Regions from separate parts of the Homo sapiens genome. Here regions 2, 3, 4 and 5 are each linked to region 1. Evidence: promoter capture Hi-C in 16 types of primary human blood cells and fetal thymus (Javierre and others, 2016). All regions are on one chromosome and are shown on one strand. The core of a region is centred on a gene start or on the middle of the fragment in contact, and the rest is flanking DNA. Distances in the headings are between cores, read along the strand shown.

Region 1 (3,960 bases), core at 948-3,447:
CTCTTGGGTGGGTGCAGTTGGAGGCACCGATTGGAGGAGAGCAAGGTTGAGTCAGGTGTCAGGGTCTGGCAAATCTTTTGCCAATGCCCTAGCAATGGAGTTTCTCTCCGGGCATTGTCTTACCTTGGGGGAAGGAAACAAAACCAATGGGAAAACAGTTTCTGTAAATAATAAACCTTGAAAGACAAATGCTCACCTAGTGGCCAGGAGGTGCGCTCTGTCTGGTTGAGAGCAATGGGCTAGATTATGGTGGACTCTGCCTCTGCCTCTGAAACAGAGATGAGGCTATGGGATCATTTCCTCGGACATCTGTATGGAGATGCAGAGATCAACGTGCCCTAGCTGCTTCGAGTGGGCATCGTGATGCCCAGTGCCCCTCAGAGCCAAGATGCAGTACTGATGGTTATTCCTGAAGCGGAGGAGAGGCAGGTGGCCTCAGGTGCCTGACAGCTTCCTGGCAGAGTCCTCTTTGGGCTGAGTCAAACCCTTTGCAGTCTAGAAGGGTTTGGTGTGCAGGCTCTGCCCACATGGGACTTCCATGCCGTTTCCATTTCTTCCAAACCATAATGCTCTCCCTTGCAGAGGTGCAGAGTAGTTAGGTAAAGGAAAATCCCCCGGAGTCTCTCCATATCTGCTACAGTGGGCTTACGCGTTTCTTGCATTTTGGGGGCAGATCCCAGAGACAAGGAGGGCGGCACATGAGCAGACATGGCACCAGGCCCCTGCCCCCTTGGGTCACCCTGTTCCCTCCCCATCCCACAACAGCCGCTGACCAGAGCAGCTCTTCCCTCACAAGCCAGTTTGCTCCCTTTGCCCCTGAGGCTCCACGGGCTGCAGCTTCCCAGGTCTGGGGGGTCGCATTTTCATAGCCTTTGCATGTGTGTGTGTCTTTAAGACATGCCCGACAGAAACAAGAGTCTTGGAGATGACACGTAATTCACCTGCCCCGTGGATCATTTCAAACAGATAACGTGGGAAAGGTATAAGAAGGTATAAGTCATGAAAGTTGTTCTTGGAAAAAGCTCAGGAAGAGTTAGAGCCCTCCAGAATGAGCCAGGTGCTAATTTAGAACAGTCACCTGCCTGCCAATGATGATGACGTGCTCAGCCACCAAGCTGCGGGCCGGGAGAGGAGCCGTAATAAGCGATTCCACCAAGCCTTCCAGCCACTCCTTTGAAACCTCTTTAAAATGAAATCCTGAAATAGGACCGCATTTCCACAGGCATCAAGCTGTCAGCTTCAAAGGAGAACAGGCTTCTGAGGCCTGGCCCCTTCAGCGCGCAGCTGAGGCCCCCCTCCCCGAGGAGAGGAGCAGATGTTTGAGGGCAGAGGGCCTGTCCTGACAGCACCTGCGTGGAGGTGGCAGGAGGGGATTGTTTCTAGGCCAGGCGAGAGGAGCCTGGCAGCCCCTGGAGCCTCGAGCCGGGGGTGGCGGGGGCAGGAACTTCTACCTCCCTGCTCAGAGCCAAGAAGTCAATTTGAACCTTTGCTGGGGCTCGGTATTAACACGTTCTGCCTTGGAGGGCAAGCCGGTGGGGCCAGGAATAAGCATTCCTTTTAACAACTTCAGTTGAAAAGCAGCCACCGCCCCACCCGCTGCTGTCCCTGGCTCTCATCAGGTGAATTCAGCATTCCTGCCACCCTGCCAGTGCCTCTGTGATCCTGGGCATGAGTTGACCACTATGTACCTCAGTTTACCCATCCACAAAAAATGCAAAAGGCCAGGACTAAGCATGGGGGCGTGACGTGAACTCCCGCTCCTCCTCTGGTCAAGGGCTTCATGCTTAGAGGAAACCAGATAAGCCCTATTGCAACCCCACCTGGAGTGGAGTGGGGGAGGATGAGGAGGAGGGGGAGACCCTACCTTCCACAGGCCCAGGGACTCGAGGGGTGGGGCTCCATTAGGAGATCAGTCGGGGCATGGTGAAGGGGAGGAGAGGTTGTCAAGGCTCAGCTGCCTGGACAGAGAGGATGGAAATACTCCCTGTGTGAAAAAAGAAAAGGAAAAGACCCCAGATCAGGAGGCAGGAAATGCAGTTTGGCAGAGTTGGTTGATGCCACTTACTTCTGGACAAGAAGACTGGAGGCTTGGCCACCCTTGATGGAAATTGCAGCAGAACCATCTCTCTATTCTGTTGATTCCCGCACCAGGCTGGCAAATAGCTTTTGTCTTTTCTGCTTCCTTGTTGCAAAAGGGTACAAAAGCCTCCCACCCACCCCACCCCCAATCGCCCTTTGTGCCATTATCTTTCAAGGTGACTTAGCTTTTGAAGTCCCTGCCATCTGCTCTGCAGGCCTGTACTTTGCAGGATGTGAGAGCACCGCGTTCCCAGAATGCCTTCTGTTCTACCCGACGTGGCTACTGATAGCTCTGCCTGTGAGGGGAAAAGAAAGCTGCGCTGTGGCCCCCTTAAAGCCCAGTCCCTGCTGTCTCCCTCAAAAAGCCACTTAGGAAAGCCACGGCCTTGAGGTACCAAGAGAGTTCTTTGAGAAATGAGAGTGGAAACTGTGAGAGAGGCTGCTCTGCAGTCGAGTGCTGGGCACGTCTGACGATGCCTGGGAGAGGAAAAAATTCCATCAAAAAACTACCATGGTTTTCTTTAGAGGAACATATGTGCACTTTTGGCAAAACATGCCTTCTCAGGAGAGCTGGAATAGTTGGAACCAATGAACTCTGAAGTCATGTGATTCGTCCCTCTGTCTTCGTGCAGTCCTTAAACTATTCTGAAAAATGCATGAATCCAACACGAATCCTAGCATTTCTGCCATGCCCACTGAGGGCCAGGCAGGCATACAGCCTGGTTGGGGGGTGGGAGGGTGAAAAGTATCTCTTTTTGTGCTTGAAGGCCCCTGAGGAAGCCCCTAGGCTCCCGTGGTGAGTGTTCCCTGCGCTGGCCTAGCAGGGTGTTGGTGTCTTGAGCCCGAATCCTGTGCAGCATTGGCCCAACCCTTGCAGGTGGCCGCCACCCCTTTCCCCTGCAGCTGGCATAGCCAAGGTGCCAGGCTCTGCAAAGGGTAAGCTGCATCTGAATTGGGCACGAGGGGATGGTTGTGCCTTCCACATCTCCTTTTGTGAAAGATCTTCCCAGATGCAAACCCAGGATGGACTTGCCAAAGAGAAATCCCAGTAACTGGCTCTAATCTCTGTGCCACCAGCTGCCATTGTCTCGAAGTTCATTTGCAAACAACAGAAACCAACTGTGGCTGGGTTAAGTGGGAAGTTTATTAAACAATATTGGATAGGTCACATGGTCACCAGGCTAAGCGGCTCCCTAGCCAGGACCAAGATCCCATGTCATTCTCCAGTACTCCCAGGTTCATACCCCAGGACTTACACCACAGACACCCCCAATGCTGGGCACTGTCACTGGGACCACTGCCTCTGCTCTTTTGGAAACTAAATGTAGAGGCTTCTACTTGTCACCAAAAGGGATTTTAAACAGCCACTAGCTGCCACTTCAAGGTCTCAGGCAAGCATACTGCCTCGGCTGAGGGAGAGGTTAGAAAAAACAGCATCCAGCCAGGCGTAGTGGCTTGTGCCTGTAATCCTGGCGCTTTGGGAGGCCTAGGCAGGAGGTCTCGAGCCCAGGAGCTAGAGACCAGCCTAGGCAACAATGTGAAACCCTCCCTACAAAAAATAAAATCAGCAAGGCACAGTGGTATACACCTGTTTTCCCAGCTACTCAAGAGGCTGAGGTGGGAGGATCACTTAAGCCTGGGAAGTCAAGGCTGCAGTGAACCGTGATTGCACCACTGCACTCCAGCCTGGGTGACAGAACAAGACCCTGTCTCAAAGAAAAGAAAAAAGCCGCATCTTGAGAATTCTGCCTTCCAAAGTGGAGGTCCCCACTTCATAACATGGGGATCCCCTGAACACAGGAAGGAGGTTCAAATGCCAAACATCTGAAACTCAGTGTCCGCTCCAGCTGGAATGCTTGCTTTTCTTTCCTCTGCCCATAA
Region 2 (3,730 bases), core at 943-3,442, 450 kb before region 1:
GAGCCATCATCGTGCCAGTGCACTCTAGCCTGAGCAACAGAATGAGACTGTGTCTCAAAGCAAAAACGATGTGTGTGTGTGTGTGTGTGTGTGTGTATGTGTGTGTGTATCTTAACTCTCTCCACTGGAAATACCTAGAAGCAAAGACCAGCCCAATAGTAATTATTCTGAAATCTGGCAAAGGGAAAGAACCAAGGATTTATCCTGTCTTTCTTACATAGACTGAATTTCAATGTCAACAAACAGTTGATGAGGAATAGTTCTTTATAGAATAATTTCCAGCAGTAAATAAAAAAGGAACCATATAATTTTAATATCCCTGTGTTGTAACCCCTGAGGAAGTACTAGATCAAGCTGTTGGGGGATTTGTAATGTTTGGGCGGCTTTAACAAAATACGTGAGACTGGGTAACTTATAAACAACAAACACTGATTGGGCTTGATGGCTCATACCTGTAATCTTAGCACTTTCCGAGGCTGAGGCAGGTGGATTGCTTGAGCCCAGGAATTTGAGACCAACCTAGCAAACGTGGTGAAACCCCATCTCTACAAAAAAGACAAAAATTATCTGGGCATAGTGGCAGGTGCCTGTAGTCCCAGCTACTTGGGAGGCTGAGATGGGAGGATGGCTTGAACCCGGGAGGTCGAAGCTGCAGTGAGCCACGATTGTGTCACTGCACTCCAGCCTGTGTGGCAAAGCAAGACCCTGTCTCAAAAAAAAAAAACAACAAACAACAACAACAATAAAAACCAACCAAACAAACAAACCCAGACATTGATTTATTATGGTTCTGGCTGTTGGGAAGTCCACGGTCAGGGCATTCAGTGTCTGGTGAGGGCCTTCTGGCTGAGTCCTCACATGGCAGAAGAGTGGAAGGGCAAAAAATTGCCTGGGGTGTTCCCTTCAACCTCTTCCATCAGGGTGCTAATTCCATTCAAAGGGGCCTGGGGGAGTGGGGCAGAGCTCCATCCTCATCATCTAATCACCTCCCAAAGGCCCCGCTTCCTGATACCCTCACATTGGAGGTTAAGTTTCAGTAGATGAATTTTAGGGGGCACATTCAGACCTCAGCACTGAGGAGGAGACCTTCTAGCTGTGGTCTGAGCGCTGAGCACGAGGTTGGCAATAGATTGTCCTGGTCCTGTTAGACCTCATTAAAGATTTAGACACTTTTCCTAAGAATAATGGGAAGCCAGAGAAGGATGTTCATGTCAGCTTTGCATTTTGTAAATATGGAAGATGAGCTGTGCCCTCTCATGACAGGATCCTAAAGGAAATTAATGGAAGGAGGTGCCATAGTGTGTTCAGGAGAGCACGGGGTTCCTGAATCTAAGATAGGTGAACCACAGTGAGTATGAGCATATCTTTCTATATGATTTTTAAAATAGAGACAGGGTCTCGCTATGTTGCCCAGGCAAGTCTCGAACTCCTGGGCTCAAGCGATCCTCCCACCTCAACCTCACAAAGTGCTGAAATCAAAGGCATGATCCACTGCACTCGGCCCATCATGTCTTTCTATTATCCAATGGAGATATGTGGAAAAATACATATTTTAATAGGGAAGATTTTAGGCACACACTGATGAGTCTGGCCTGAAGTTACTATCAATCATTTTCTGTGGCTGATCCCCAAACGGAAGCAGCCTTTGGAAACCTAAGAACTGTCCTACGGAGAGGCGGCCTAGCATCTGGACTCTGGCACCAGTCTGCCTGGTCTCAAATCCTGGCTCAACGACTTACCAGCTGTGTGACCTCGGGCAATTTGCCTAAACTCTCTGTGCTTCGGTTTCCTCGTCTTTAAATGGAGCATAATGACAACATTCATCTCATAGGGCTGGCTGTCATAAAGCTTATATGGATTAATATTTGTCAGGCACTTAAGACAGAGCCCCATCCTTAATGAGCACTATACTAGAATCTTGTGACTATAAGTAAATATGCAAATCTTTTCACTTCTTGGTGACCTGGGTCCTCACTGGTAAAGCAAAGCTTAGAAATTTCTATCTTCTGGCTTGGAGCAGTGGCTCACGCCTGTAATCCCAGCACTTTGGGAAGCTGAGGTGCCACTGACCCCTTCTTCCAAATGTATTATTTTGTCTCTTGTCTTTTATTCCCACGTTCAGTCCCCTTTGTTCAGTCCCCCTAGGTCCGTGCGGGTTACACTGAGCCAGGGAGGGTACACTTGAACCCAGGAGGCAGAGGTTGCAGTGAGCTGAGATCACGCCACTGCACTCCAGCCTGGGTGACAGAGTGAGACTTCGTCTCAAAAAAATATATATATATGCAGTTGGCTCAAAAGACTCTCAGGGCCGCCAGCCCTCGTGTGAATAGAGTCTAACCGTCTGACAAGCCACCTGTTTGGGTCTGCCTGGGATCAACACTTCATGAAGAAGCTTGTCACGGTTCCCAGAAGGAGAGAACAGGCCCTTGCCAAGCTTAAGGGAACAGGATGTATGGCACATTTTGTGCCTGCATAAATAAATGATCTGGATAGAATTCTGTCTATGACTTCTTTTTTTGTAGCATAATAGGTTATAGAGAAGGAAGGAGACAAAGAGCTTCATCTGCTTTAATTGTGGGACACAACCCTATTTATCCAACTGACATGGTGTCAAAGGGCCACATTCATTCACTCGTCCAACAGATATTTCAAGAGTGCCTATTCTAGGATGCAGGGCTATAAAAACCAGACAAAACCCTACATTGTAAAGTGACTTAGATCAGGTTGTAAAAACTGTTTTCAAAAGCAACTGGTAGATTTAATCAAAAGATATCCCGAGCTGCACACAGTGGCACATGCCTGTGGTCCCAGCTACTCAGGAGTCGGGAGGATCACTTGAGCACAGAGTTTGAGACCAGCCTGGGCAACATAGTGAGACCCCAACTCAAAAAAAAAAAAGGTATCCTGAGTTCTTTGGAAAGGCTCCAGAAAGCCAAGATTTCAAATCTCTACAGTTCTTCAAAGATGAAAGAATTGCGAAAATCATATAGGAAAGAACCCACTTATGTGGGCAACTAAAATTTAAGGAGTTGAGGACTTAGTAATTCTCAAAGTGCACCTCAGACAAGCAGCATCAACACAAACTGGGAAATCTGTTAGAAATGCACGTTCCCAGACCCCATCCCAAACCTCCTGAATAAGAAACTCTGGGAGTGGAAACCTGCAATCTTTGATTTAAAAAGTTCTCCGGGCTGGACACGTTGGCTCACGCCTGTAATCCCAGCATTTTGGGCGGCTGAGGTGGGAGGACTGCTTGAGGTCAGGCATTTGAGACCAGCCTGGCCAACATGGTGAAACCCCACTGCTACTAAAAATACAAAAATTAGTTGGGCGTGGTGGTGCACCTGTGGTCCCACCTACTTGGGAGGCTGAGGCAGGAGAATCGCTTGAGACTGGGAGGTTAAGACTGCAGTGAACTGTGATCACACCACTGCCCTCCAGCCTGGGTGCTAGAGCAAGACCCTGTCTCAGAAATAAAATAAAATAACAAGCTCTCCAGGTATTTTGGATGCCAAGTTTGAGGACCATAGATGTACTTTTTAACAAAGGACAATTCCGCCAGGTGGCATTCCAACATGAGAAATAACAAACAGATCTGTTCTGCAGTTTCAGAAAAATTCCACCAGGTGACTCACTAACCTGCGTACAGCCGTCCCCTTTATCCACGGTTTTGCTTTCTGCAGTTTCCGTTATCCACGGTCAACCTCTGCCAAAAATATTAAACAGAAAA
Region 3 (3,859 bases), core at 381-2,880, 470 kb after region 1:
AAGTAACAGTGCTGTGACCTCTAGCTTCACCCACGTGGATCCAGAACTCCTGGGGCAATCACTCCATTTTCATCCCTGTATATCAGAGCCTTTGTACTAGGAATTTCAGCAGCATTACCTTTGACTCAAATGAATAATTTTTTAAAATTTTATTTAGACCTGGTGAACCGGAAGTAACAAATTAATTATCCGTATAGATTGAGAAGATGGAGAAAAAACAATAACTGAACATCTGTTAATATAGGTCCAATTTAGTATTAAGTAGTAATATTAGATGCCTTATAATGTGCCATCCCATATACACAAATATGACCTTCTGCTTAGGGACATTTGCTTTGATCTGGTTTTAAGTAGTGGTAAAGGATTTCTTGCAGTCACTTGCAGTTTAGTTAATTCGTCTTTTGGTCAAAAACTAACCTTTCTAGAAAGTTAGTAAAAGTTTAAAAAGTACCATGCGCCGGGAGCAGTGGCTCACGCCTGTAATCCCAGCACTTTGGGAGGCCAAGGCAGGTGGATCACCTGAGGTCAGAAGTTCGAGACCAGCCTGGCCAACATGGTGAAACCCCATCTCTACTAAAAATAGAAAAAAATTAGCCGGGAGTGGTGGCGTGCACCTGTAATCCCACCTACTCAGGAGGCTGAGGCAGGAGAATTGCTTGAACCCAGGAGGTCAAGGTTGCAGTGAACCGAGATGGTACCACTGCACTCCAGCCTGGGCTAGAGTAAGACTCTGTCTCCAAAAAAAAAAGTACCATGCTGCCATTTAACTGAGCACTTATGTAGAAAGAACACTAATACTAGCCAGTGAATGGATACCTGCTCTGTGCCAAGAACTTCACATAGATTTAGGGTTGCCAGATAAAATACAAGATGCCCCGTTAAATTTGAATTTCAGATAAACAACGAATAATTTTTAGTATAAATGTGTATTTTTATCCTGGATACATGTGGAACAAGGCTAGAAAACTAAATAAGGTTCTAACCATTGCCAAAAAAATTACGAAATGCCCTTCTAGGTCTAGACCTTGTAATGCAATCAGGATCTGGGAGAAAAGCTTAAGAACCAAATTAATGTATAAATTTGTAGTGTTTGTAGAAAGAGGTGAGCATACTTAGACTAAAATATTATTTGCTGTTTATCTCAAATTCAATTTTAACTGAGCATCTTCGATTTTTATTTGCTAAATCTGACACATTATCTCTAATCCTCTCAATTCTCTGCGAAATTCTCACCATTTTCCAGATGAAGAAACAGCTTGAGAACCTCCCCAGCATCGATTTGCTTTTTTGCCCTTCTAATAGAACCCCAACTCTGTTCAGGCATCCACCCGCTCCACACTACCCAGAGTCTCAGTCAATCAATGTGTGGCCTAATTACACTGAAGGAAAGAATTTAACATTTGATGGTTTGAAAGAGGTTTTCCCTGTCTACCCTGCTGGATGAACAAGGAAGCAAGTACGCTTGTTGCCACTGACAGTCATTTCGTGACTAAGAGGAAAACCAGCCCTAGGTCAAAGCCTACACACTAAATAAGGCAGAATCAAAAAATAGAAAAAAAAATTTTTAACTGGGTTCTTGATGACGTCACTGAGTTGTTTCATTAAACAAACTCTGCCCTTTCCTTGCATTTCAGACAGTTTGAGTCAGACTTTCTATTAGATGCCAGAGACGCATCCCACTACAGATGTCAGAACCTATGAGTGCTACTCATTACGGGTCTCAATAATCAATAAACAAGTGGTAATCAAGATGTAAGACATTTTTGGCTGAGCACGGTGGCTCACGCCTGTAATCCCAGCATTTTGGGAGGCCAAGGCAGGCGGATCATCTGACATCAGGAGTTTGAGACCAGCCTGACCAATATGATGAAACCCCGTCTCTACTAAAAATACAAAAATTAGCCGGGCATGGTGGCATGTGCCTGTAATCCCAGCTACTCGGGAGGCTGAGACAGGAGAATCGCTTGAACCCGGGAGGCGGAGGTTGCAGTGAGCCGAGATTGCGCCATTGCACTCCAGCCTGGGCAACAAGAACGAAACTCCATCTCAAAACAAAAAAAAAGTAAGACATTTTTATCCTTGATATATGTGGGACAAGTCTAGAAGACTAAACAAGCATTCTATTCATTGTCAAAAAAACATTTATGAAGTATCCATCTGGGCCTAGACCTCATAATGCAATCAGGATCTGGTAGAAAAGCTTAAGAATCCAATCAACACATAATTTTTTTTTTTTTTTGAGACAGGGTCTTGCTCGGTCACCCAGGCTGGAGTGCAGTGGCATGATCTCAGCTTACTACAACCTCTGCCTTCTGGGTTCAAGTGATTCTTTTGCCTCAGCCTCCCTAGTAGCTGGGACTACAGGCGCACGCCACCACACTCTGCTAATTTCTGTATTTTTAGTAGAGATGGGGTTTCACCATGTTGGCCAGGCTGGTTTTGACCTCAAGTGACCCGCCTGCCTCAGCCTCCCAAAGTGCTGGGATTACAGGCATGAGCCGCGGTGCCTGGCTCAGTGCATAAATTTATAGTGTTTGCAGGAAGAGGTGAGCATTAGTTATTCCTCGGCCCTGCTCAGAGCTTAAATCAAACCGTCAGATCTTACATGTTTTCATTTAAAGTTTATATCATTTGGAAAATTTTCATTTTGGAAATTTGAATCCAATTCCTCATTTGAAACAAAGCCTCTATCTTTGTCCTCCAGGCACTGAGTTTAACCAGGAACAGTGGGGAAAGAACAGAAATGTCAGCCTTAACACTTTAACCAATATTCTTCTGTACCTTGAGCAAACCTTACATTGCAATCATATCTTTTAAGACTCGGGCGTCAGATGGCCTGGGCTCAAATGCTAGCTCTAGTTATGTCCTTGGGCAAATTGCTCAACTTCTCTATGCCTCAGTTTCCTCCTCTGTAAAAATGGAGATGAAGCCGGGCGCGGTGACTCATGCCTGTAATCCCAGCACTTTGAGAGGCCAAGGTGGGTGGATCACTTGAGGTGTGGAGTTCGAGACCAGCCTGGCCAACACAGGGAAACCCCGTCTCTACTAAAAATACAAAAATTAGCTGGGCGTGGTGGTGAGTGTCTGTAATCCCAACTACTTGGGAGGCTGAGGCAGGAGAATTGCTTGAACCCGGGAGACAGAGATTGCAGTGAGCCTGAGATTGCACCACTGCACTCCAGCCTGGGCAAAAGAGTGAGACTCCGTCTCAAAAAAAATTGGAGATGATGAAGATGATAATAGTGCTTACTTCATAGGTTTAGGTGAGTGACTATTTGTGAAATACTTAGAAGAGTATCTGACCCATAGTAAGGACTTTATAAAGATTAGCTGTTACTGAGCAGGCTCAATTCCATGGGGTATAAATGAAGTGGTTTATTTTTCTCCAATCACTACTTTGAAACATGTTTTTATGGTAAATTTACCTTTCATGTCCCTTCATATCTTGGATACTTTTTTTTGACATTTAGGTGTTTTCTGCTATTAAAAATCAACCGTTTAAAACTCTAATCTTGTGTTTGATTTAAATCCCTTTCCCCACTTCCCACCATCATCACCTGTCAGGCTTGTGGCTCATGGCACCTAAAGTGACCAAAGTGACCAACATAAAGTGACCAGGGGATGTGATGGGCCCTTACTCCAGTTCCTTGGAAGGTGTGGTCAGTTCTCTCACCAAGCCTAACTTCTCTGACCATAGGGAGGTAGAGGGGAGAGGGAACCATCAGCTCTTGGCTTAACAACTCATGAAAGCCCCTTTGAACATGGGCTACACTTAATAACTCACTTCTAACAAAATATGGCAAAAGTACTGATCACTGATGGTCATGACCTGAGACTAGGTCATAGAAGGTGTTGCAGC
Region 4 (3,958 bases), core at 1,346-3,845, 510 kb after region 1:
CAATCACTAAAAAAGTAAAAAGAAATATAATTGATATGCTAACAGAGGAGAGAAAATGGAATCATATAAAATGCCCAATTAAAACCACAAAAAGCAGAAAAAGCATGGAAGACAAAAGTAGAAACAGAGAACAAGGGCAACAAATAGCAGACAGTAACAAATATGGTAGCTATTAATCCAATTAGATAAAGAAAAATCACTTTAGGTTGGGCATGGTGGCTCATGCCTGTAAGCCCAGCACTTTGGGAGGCTGAGGCAGGCAGATCACTTGAGCTCAGGAATTCAAGACCAGCCTGGGCAACATGGCGAAACCCTGTCTCTACAAAAAATAAAAAAAATTAGTTGGGTGTGTTGGTGTGCTCCTGTAGTCCCAGCTACTTGGGAGGCTGAGGAGAGTGGATTGCTTGAGCCCGGGAGGTTGAGGCTGCAGTGAGCTGTGATTGTGCCACTGCACTCCAGCCTGGGTGACAGAGCAAGACCCTGTCTCAAAAAAAAAAAAAAAAAAAAAAAAACCTTGAATATAAATGATCTAAACACATCAAACAAAAGACAGAAATTGTCAAATGGATGATAAAACAAAGGCCAACTATATGTTGTCTACGAGAAATGTACTTTAAATATAAAGACATATATAGATTGAAAGTTAAGGGATAGAGAAAACTATCCAATGCTAACACTCATCAAAAGAAAGCAGGAGTAGCTGTATTAATTTCAGGCAGAGCAGACTTTAGAGCAAGGAAAGTTATCAGGAATAAAGAGGAGCATTACATAATGAAAAAGGAGTCAAAACTATAAGAGGGTATAACAATCTTAATGTGTATATGCCTAACAAAAGAACATCAAAATTACCTTACAACAGACACAAAACTTTTTGTCTCTATAAAAAATTTTTTAAAAAGTAGCTGGGCATGGTGGTGCATGCCTGTGGTCCCAGCTACTCATGAGGCTGAGGTGGGAGGACTGCTTAAGCCCAGGAGGTTAAGGCTGCCGTGAGCCATCGATCATACCAGTTCACTCCAGCCTGGGCAACAGAGTGAAACCCTGCCGCAAAGAAAACCCCCAAATAATATTTACATTAGCACCCCCCAAAAAGGAAATACTTAGGTATAAATCTAACCAAATATGTATGACATCTATATGAGGAAAAGTATAAAACTGATGAAAGAAATCAAATAATAACTCAATAAATGAAGAGATATACCATGTGCATGGACAGGAAAACTCAATATTATCAAGATGTCAGTTCTCCCCAATTTGATCTATAGATTCAACACAATCCTAATCAAATTCCCAGTCAGTTATTGTGTGGATATCAGCAAATTGCTTCTAAAGTTTATACGGAGGGGCAAAAGACCCAGAATAGCCACCACAATACTGAAGATCAGTGTTAGAGGACTGACACTACCTGACTTCAAGATCTACTAAAAAGCTACAGTAATCAAGACAGTGTGGTATTCGCATAAGAATAGACAAATAGATCAATGGAATGGAATAGAGAGCTCAGAAATTGACTCACACAAATATAGTCTACTCTTTTTTTTTTTTTTTTTTGAGACAGAGTCTCACTCTGTCGCCCAGGATGGAGTGCAGTGGTGTGATCTTGGCTCACTGCAACCTCCACCTCCCACGTTCAAGCAATTCTTGTGTCTCAGCCTCCCGAGTAGCTGGGATTACAGGCACGCACCACCACGCTCAGCTAATTTTTGTATTTTTAGTAGAGACAGGGTTTCCCCATGTTGGCCAGACTGGTCTTGAACTCCTTGACCTCAGGTGATCCACCCACCTTCACCTCCCAAAGTGCTGGGATTACAGATGGAGCCACCATGCCCGGCCCCCTAGGTTCTGACAAGTAGTCATCTTTACCTAAAACTCAGTTAACATGATTTGTTTTCATACTATTCATTCCTTTTGAAATTTTATTTAAAAAATTGATATATGATTCACCCCTGTAATCTCACATCTATAATCCCAGCACTTCGTGAGGCTGAGGCAGGTGGATCACCTGAGGTCAGGAGTTTGAGACCAGCCTGGCTAACATGGTGAAACCCCATCTCTACTAAAAATACAAAAATTAGCCTGGCGTGGTGGCAGCCACCTGTAATCCCAGCTACTTGGGAGGCCGAGGCAGGAGAATTGCTTGAACCCGAGAGGCAGAGGTTGCGGTGAGCTGAGATCTCGCCATTGCACTCTAGCCTGGGCAGTAGAGTGAGATTCTGTCTCAAAAAAAACAAAACAAAAAAACCACACAAAAACTTACAAAACATAACCTATGTACAAAAATGCATACTAAACATATGTACTTTTTATTTTAAAGGAAGAAACAATCTAATGTAAGTCACCTATGTCAACAAAACAGAATATTACAGAACTCCCCCACATGTAAGTAACCTCCTGGATCATGACTCTTAACCTCCTCCCCAGAGGTAACTCCTAACTCATAATAAATCCAGTTCTTGTTTTTCACATGTGTTTGTTTTTGTTTTACACTGAGGTGTGCATCCTGGATTTGAGTATTGTATGGATGGGATGGAGTCTTACCCTTTGGATTCGTTCTCTCTCTCTCTCCTTTTGCTGAACATTATGATTTTGAGGTATCATCCATGTCTCAATGTATAGTTGTGTATTTTCATTCTATAGAGTATTCATTCTATTGAACGAGTATGCCACAATTTAATTTGCGTTTTACTATAGATGGACTTCGGGTTTTCCATTTGGGGTTATTATAAATTATGCCGTTATGAAGTTTTTTTTGTTTTTTAGAGACAGGGTCTCGTTCTGTTGCCTAGGTGGGAGTGCAGTTGTGCTATCACAGCTCATTGTGGCCTCAACCTCCTGGGCTCAGGTGATCCTCCCTCAGCCTCCTGAGTAGCTCGGACTACAGGTATGTGACACCACACCCAGTTAATTTTTTGTATTTTTAAAATAGAGACAGAGTCTCCCTATGTTGCCCAGGCTGGTCTCGAACTCCTGGACTCAAGCGATCCACCCACCTTGGCCTCCCAAAGTGCTGGGATTACAGGCATGAGCCACTGCACCTGGAAAGATTCTTAAACACTTACCTTGATGTACAATGTGCATACACATGTTTCTCTGGGGCATAGACATAGGGTAGAACTGCCCACAGGCTATGCTCTCTTCAACTTTATTAGATAATGCCAAACTGAGCTCATATCCAGTTACTTGGGTGTGAGACTTCCAGGCAAAAAAGTTGTTTAAATTTTTTTTTTTTTTTTTTTAGAGACAGAGTGTTGCTCTGTCACTTAGGCTGGAATGCAGTGGCGCAATCTCAGCTTACTACAACCTCTGCCTCCCAGGTTCAAGCAATTCTCCTGCCTCAGCTTCCCAAGTAGCTGGGACTACAGGTGTGTGCCACCACACTCGGCTAATTTTTGTATTTTTTAGCAGAGATGGGGTTTCACTATATGCTGGCCAGGCTGGTCTCGAACTCCTGACCTCAGGTGATTTGCCTGCCTCAGCCTCCCAAAGTGCTGGGATTACAGGCATGAGCCACTGCACCTGGCCTAAAAAGTTGTTTAAAAAAGATAATGCCAAATTGTTTTCCAAAGTAGTTGTACTAATTTACACTCCCACCCGAGGCATATGACAGTTCCTATGCTCCACATTATCAGAACCTGATATTGTCAGTCTTTTCCCTACTTTGTAATACTGGAGCTGCACCTGCGCAACCTACATTTTGTGTTTTGGCAGCCGGCTCCATGTTATACTCTGCCAATAGGGGGCACTGAAGGACTTTTCTGCTTCCTGTTTGCTGCTTTGTTTCTCCTCACTGCTGGGACTCACTTGATGGGCGCAGTGTAGCACTGGCCCCGTGGCATTCCCTGTGCAGGCATCCGGTGAGTTTCCTCCTCACTGTGGTGATGGGTGGTGGCTTCCTGCAGAAGCTGCAAAATTCTTTTCTTTCCTTTTGTTTTTGTTTTGATACAGTCTCTCTCTGTCG
Region 5 (3,922 bases), core at 61-2,560, 410 kb after region 1:
AGTAGTCTGCCAGGGCTATGAAAAATAAAATGAAGCTTCATTCTCAAAAGATAAAATACAAAGAGAAGAGGTGAGTTAGTGTCTAAATTCTAAAGAACTGTTGTTATAAATTAGTATCAAAGGATATAGAAAACAAGATGGGGCAATGAAGATTACTATTTAGAATACGTGAAATATATTTACCTAATGCTGTTTCCATAAGTAATACTTTATTCCAACAAAATTAAACCAAAGAAAAGCACTTCCAGAATGGCAGTGTGAGGTGGTCCATGTGGACCCTGGACCCTCTCCTCAGCAAAACAACCTTAACTGGTACAAAGGATACAAAAAAAGAAGGAAAGAGAAGAAACTATTTACAGTCTGCAGAAATTGCCCTAAGGACATGGGGCAAACGCAGCAATATTTAGTCAAGAAAATCTACTGAATCTTGGTAAAAAGACCAAGTTGGAAAAATTTGAACCAGGACTCACTTCCTTACATGCCCATTCCCTCTCCCTCACCCCCAGCTCTATGCCCAGTGAGTGTAGCCAAGACGAAAGTTTCTCCCCAGGAGCAGTAGGTTACCAGAATTTCACATCCCCTGCCACCCCTCGCAGCCTCTGTTTCATGTTGCAGGAACTATTCCGGTCAAGCAGAGCTACCTCCACCTAGCCTCATTTATAGGGCAGCACCTCTACCCCAGGCAAGGAAGGCTGAGAATACTGAAAATGGAACCAAATGGAAATTCTGGAATAGGAAAGTAAATAACCAAAATGAAAGATTCATTAGCACCCACCTAGCACCTAGATCCTGCTTTCTAATACCATTCTGTGATAAAAATAAACCAGGAGTCGGGCACAGTGGCTCATGTCTGTAATCCTAGCACTTTGGGAGACAGGCCGGGCAGATCACTTGAGCCCAAGAGTTCGAGACCAGCCTGGGCAACATGGTAAAACCCCTTCTCTACAAAAAAAAAAAAAAAATACAAAAATTAGCCAGGTGTGGTGGCCCGCACCTGTAGCCCCAGTTACTCTGGAGGCTGAGGTGGGAGGATCACCTGAGCCTAGGAGGTCAAGGCTGTGGTGAGCCGCGATCATGCAACTGCACTCCAGCCTGGGTGAGAGTGACGCCCTGCCTCAAAAGAAAGAAAGAAAGAAAGAAAGAAAGAAAGAAAGAAAGAAAGAAAGAAACCAGGACTCTTTGGTGAAATGGCTGAAACTAGGACTGGGGCATAAAAATGTACAAGATGAGCCTGGAGCATATTCTAGTGCCAGAAAATAAAGAAGTAGGTTTAAAAAAAAAGAGAGAGAGAGAAGGAGGAGGAGGAGGAGAAAGAGAGAAAGAAAAAAGAAGGCCAGGCGCAGTGGCTCACGCCTGTCATCCCAACACTTTGGGAGGCCGAGGCGGGTGGATCATCTGAGGTCAGGAGTTGGAGACCAGCCTGGCCAACATGGTGAAACCCCATCTCTATTAAAAATACAAAAATTTAGCCAGGCGTGGTGGCACACACCTGTAATCCAAGCTACTCAAGAGGCTGAGACAGGAGAATCGCTTGAACCCAGGAGGTGGAGGTTGCAGTGAGCGGAGATCACGCCACCGCACTCCAGCCTAGGGGATAGAACGAGACTTCCTCTCCAAAAAAAAAAAAAAAAAGGAAGAAAGAAGAGGAAGAGGAAGAAGAAGAAAGAAGAAAGGAAGAAGGAAGAAGAAGTGTGCTATGTCAAATCACACTAGTTAACTGAAGGGGCCCCCAGTAGCCAAAGCAGGGACAATTTTAGCAACAAAATAAAGTAGTACTACATTTGGATTATTAACCAAAGTATTAAAAAGAAATCCATGAGTCCATAATGATTTTTTAAATAAGTAAATGAGAGAGTCAGAGTTGACAAATCCCCTGTGCAGAAGAATTCTAAATAATTTATGTAAATACCCCATCTTCAATAAGGTGGAACATAACTCCATAGTCCTTAAATGTGGGCTGCACATAGTAACTTTCTTCCAAAGAGGACATTATGGAAAGGGAGAAAAAGAGTAGTTTTACAATGCAGAAACCTGACAAACACCGCCTCAGCCAGGTGATCAAGGTTAATTAACATCAATAGTGATAAGCATGTTGATAGTATGTCCCTTTGATACGATGTGATGAAAATGACACTTTACTTACGTGGTCTTCCTCCCAAAAACCTGCAACACCAGTCTAATCACAAGGAAAACATCAGACAAATCCCAACTGAGGGATACTCCACAAAACACCTAAGCAGTATTACTCAAAACTGTTCATCAAAAACACAGAAAGTCTGAGAATCTGTAACAGCCAAGAGGAGTCTAAGAAGATATGACAACTAAATGTAATGTGATATCCTACATGAGATCCTAGAGCAGAAAAAAAAAGACATTAGATTAAAACAGGAAATTTGAATAAAGTATGAACTTTGAATATCAGTAATCAATAATCACTAACAATATGGTTTATTAATTAGAATGAATGTATCATACCAATATAAGATGTTAATAATAGGGAAAACTACATGTGGGGTACATGGAAACTCTCCACTATCTTTGCAATGTTTCTGTAAACCAAAACCTATTCTAAATTATGAAGCTTATTTTTAAAAACTCACTAGAGGAGATGAATAGATTTCAGCTGGCAGAAGAATCAGTGAACTTGAAGACTGATTGATAGAGATTATGCAATCTGAAGAACACAGAAAAAAATGAAAAATGAACAGAACCTCAGAGAAAAATGGGATACCACTAAACATATCTATCTATCTCATCATCCCCTTTTGGTTGTTTCTCTGGAGAGCCTGGACTAATACACAACAACATACATGTAATGGGAATACCAGAGGAGAAGAAAGAACAGAAAAAAATACTTAAGAAATAGTGGCTGGCCGGGCGTGGTGGCTCACGTCTGTAATCCCAGCACTTTGGGAGGCCGAGGTGGGCGGAACACAAGGTCAAGAGATCGAGACCATCCTGGCTAACACAGTGAAACCCCGTCTCTACTAAAAATACAAAAAATTAGCCAGGCATGGTGGCGGGTGCCTGTAGTCCCAACTACTAGGGAGGCTGACGCAGGAGAATGGCGTGAACTTGGGAGGCGGAGCTTGCAGTGAGCGGAGATCGTGCCACTGCACTCCAGCCTGGGCGAGAGTGTGAGACTCCATCTCAAAAAAAAAAAAAAAAAAAAAAAGAAATAGTGGCTGAGAACTTCTCAAATGTGATGAAAAACATTTAACTACATATCCAAGAAACTCAACAAACTCCAAATACAATAAACACAAAGAGATCCACACCCAGAAACATCATAGTCAAAATGCTGAAAGGCATAGAAAGTCTTGAAAGCAGCAGGAGAGGCCAGGCACGGTGTCTTACACCTATAATCCTAACACTTTGGGAGGCCAAGATAGGAGGATTGCTTCAGGCCAGGAGTTCAAGACCAGCCTGGTCAACACAGCAAGACCCCATCTCTATATCAAAAAATACATTTAAGGCCAGGTGTGGTGGCTCATGCCTGTAATACCAGCACTTTGGGAGGCCAAGGCAGGCAGATCACTTGAGGTCAGGAGTTCAAGACCAGCCTGGCCAACATAGTGAAACCCCGTCTCTACTAAAAATACAAAAATTGGCGGGGCATGGTGGTGCACACCTGTAGCCCCAGCTACTCTACTCGGGAGGCTGAGGCAGGAGAATCACTTGAACCCGAGAGGGAGAGGTTGCAGTGAGCCAAGATGACACCACTGCACTCCAGCCTGGGCAACAGAGCCAGACTCCATCTCAAAAACAACAACAACAACAAAATATATATTTAAGAAAAAAAAAAAAAAAGAAAGCAACAAGAGAAAAACAACTTATCACATAAGAAGAATCCTCAATAAAATTAATAGCTGACTTTCTGATTAGAAACAACGGAGATTGGCCAGGCACGGTGGCTCACACC

What was found. The method cuts DNA at HindIII sites, captures the fragments that hold promoters and counts their contacts. A CHiCAGO score of 5 or more calls a contact.
Region 2: a contact is called between a fragment that was not itself captured here and the fragment with the promoter of PHKA2-AS1 in region 1, in 1 of 17 cell types (M0 macrophages). The highest score is 5.1, in M0 macrophages.
Region 3: a fragment that was not itself captured here is called in contact with the fragment with the promoter of PHKA2-AS1 in region 1 in 4 of 17 cell types (M2 macrophages, monocytes, megakaryocytes and 1 more); the score reaches 7.8 in M2 macrophages.
Region 4: a contact is called between a fragment that was not itself captured here and the fragment with the promoter of PHKA2-AS1 in region 1, in 1 of 17 cell types (M2 macrophages). The highest score is 5.3, in M2 macrophages.
Region 5: a contact is called between a fragment that was not itself captured here and the fragment with the promoter of PHKA2-AS1 in region 1, in 1 of 17 cell types (total B cells). The highest score is 5.0, in total B cells.

Annotation. Positions count from the first base shown.
Region 1 is chrX:18,888,533-18,892,492 of GRCh38, reverse strand. It overlaps PHKA2-AS1 (PHKA2 antisense RNA 1), which reads right to left and starts at 2,197. Exons shown (of 3, transcript NR_029379.1): 1 at 1,865-2,197. It overlaps PHKA2 (phosphorylase kinase regulatory subunit alpha 2), which reads left to right. Exons shown (of 33, transcript NM_000292.3): 33 at 1-195. The HindIII fragment of the contact is 28,066 bases long and covers 1-3,960 here.
Region 2 is chrX:19,335,597-19,339,326 of GRCh38, reverse strand. No RefSeq gene overlaps it. Among named protein-coding and RNA genes, the nearest start is that of PDHA1, 6.5 kb to the left of the region's middle. The HindIII fragment of the contact is 404 bases long and covers 1,991-2,394 here.
Region 3 is chrX:18,420,226-18,424,084 of GRCh38, reverse strand. No RefSeq gene overlaps it. Among named protein-coding and RNA genes, the nearest start is that of CDKL5, 3.5 kb to the left of the region's middle. The HindIII fragment of the contact is 1,145 bases long and covers 1,058-2,202 here.
Region 4 is chrX:18,377,776-18,381,733 of GRCh38, reverse strand. No RefSeq gene overlaps it. Among named protein-coding and RNA genes, the nearest start is that of SCML2, 25 kb to the right of the region's middle. The HindIII fragment of the contact is 6,947 bases long and covers 1-3,958 here.
Region 5 is chrX:18,478,568-18,482,489 of GRCh38, reverse strand. The region is part of intron 1 of CDKL5 (cyclin dependent kinase like 5); the gene reads right to left. Among named protein-coding and RNA genes, the nearest start is that of CDKL5, 55 kb to the right of the region's middle. The HindIII fragment of the contact is 2,546 bases long and covers 38-2,583 here.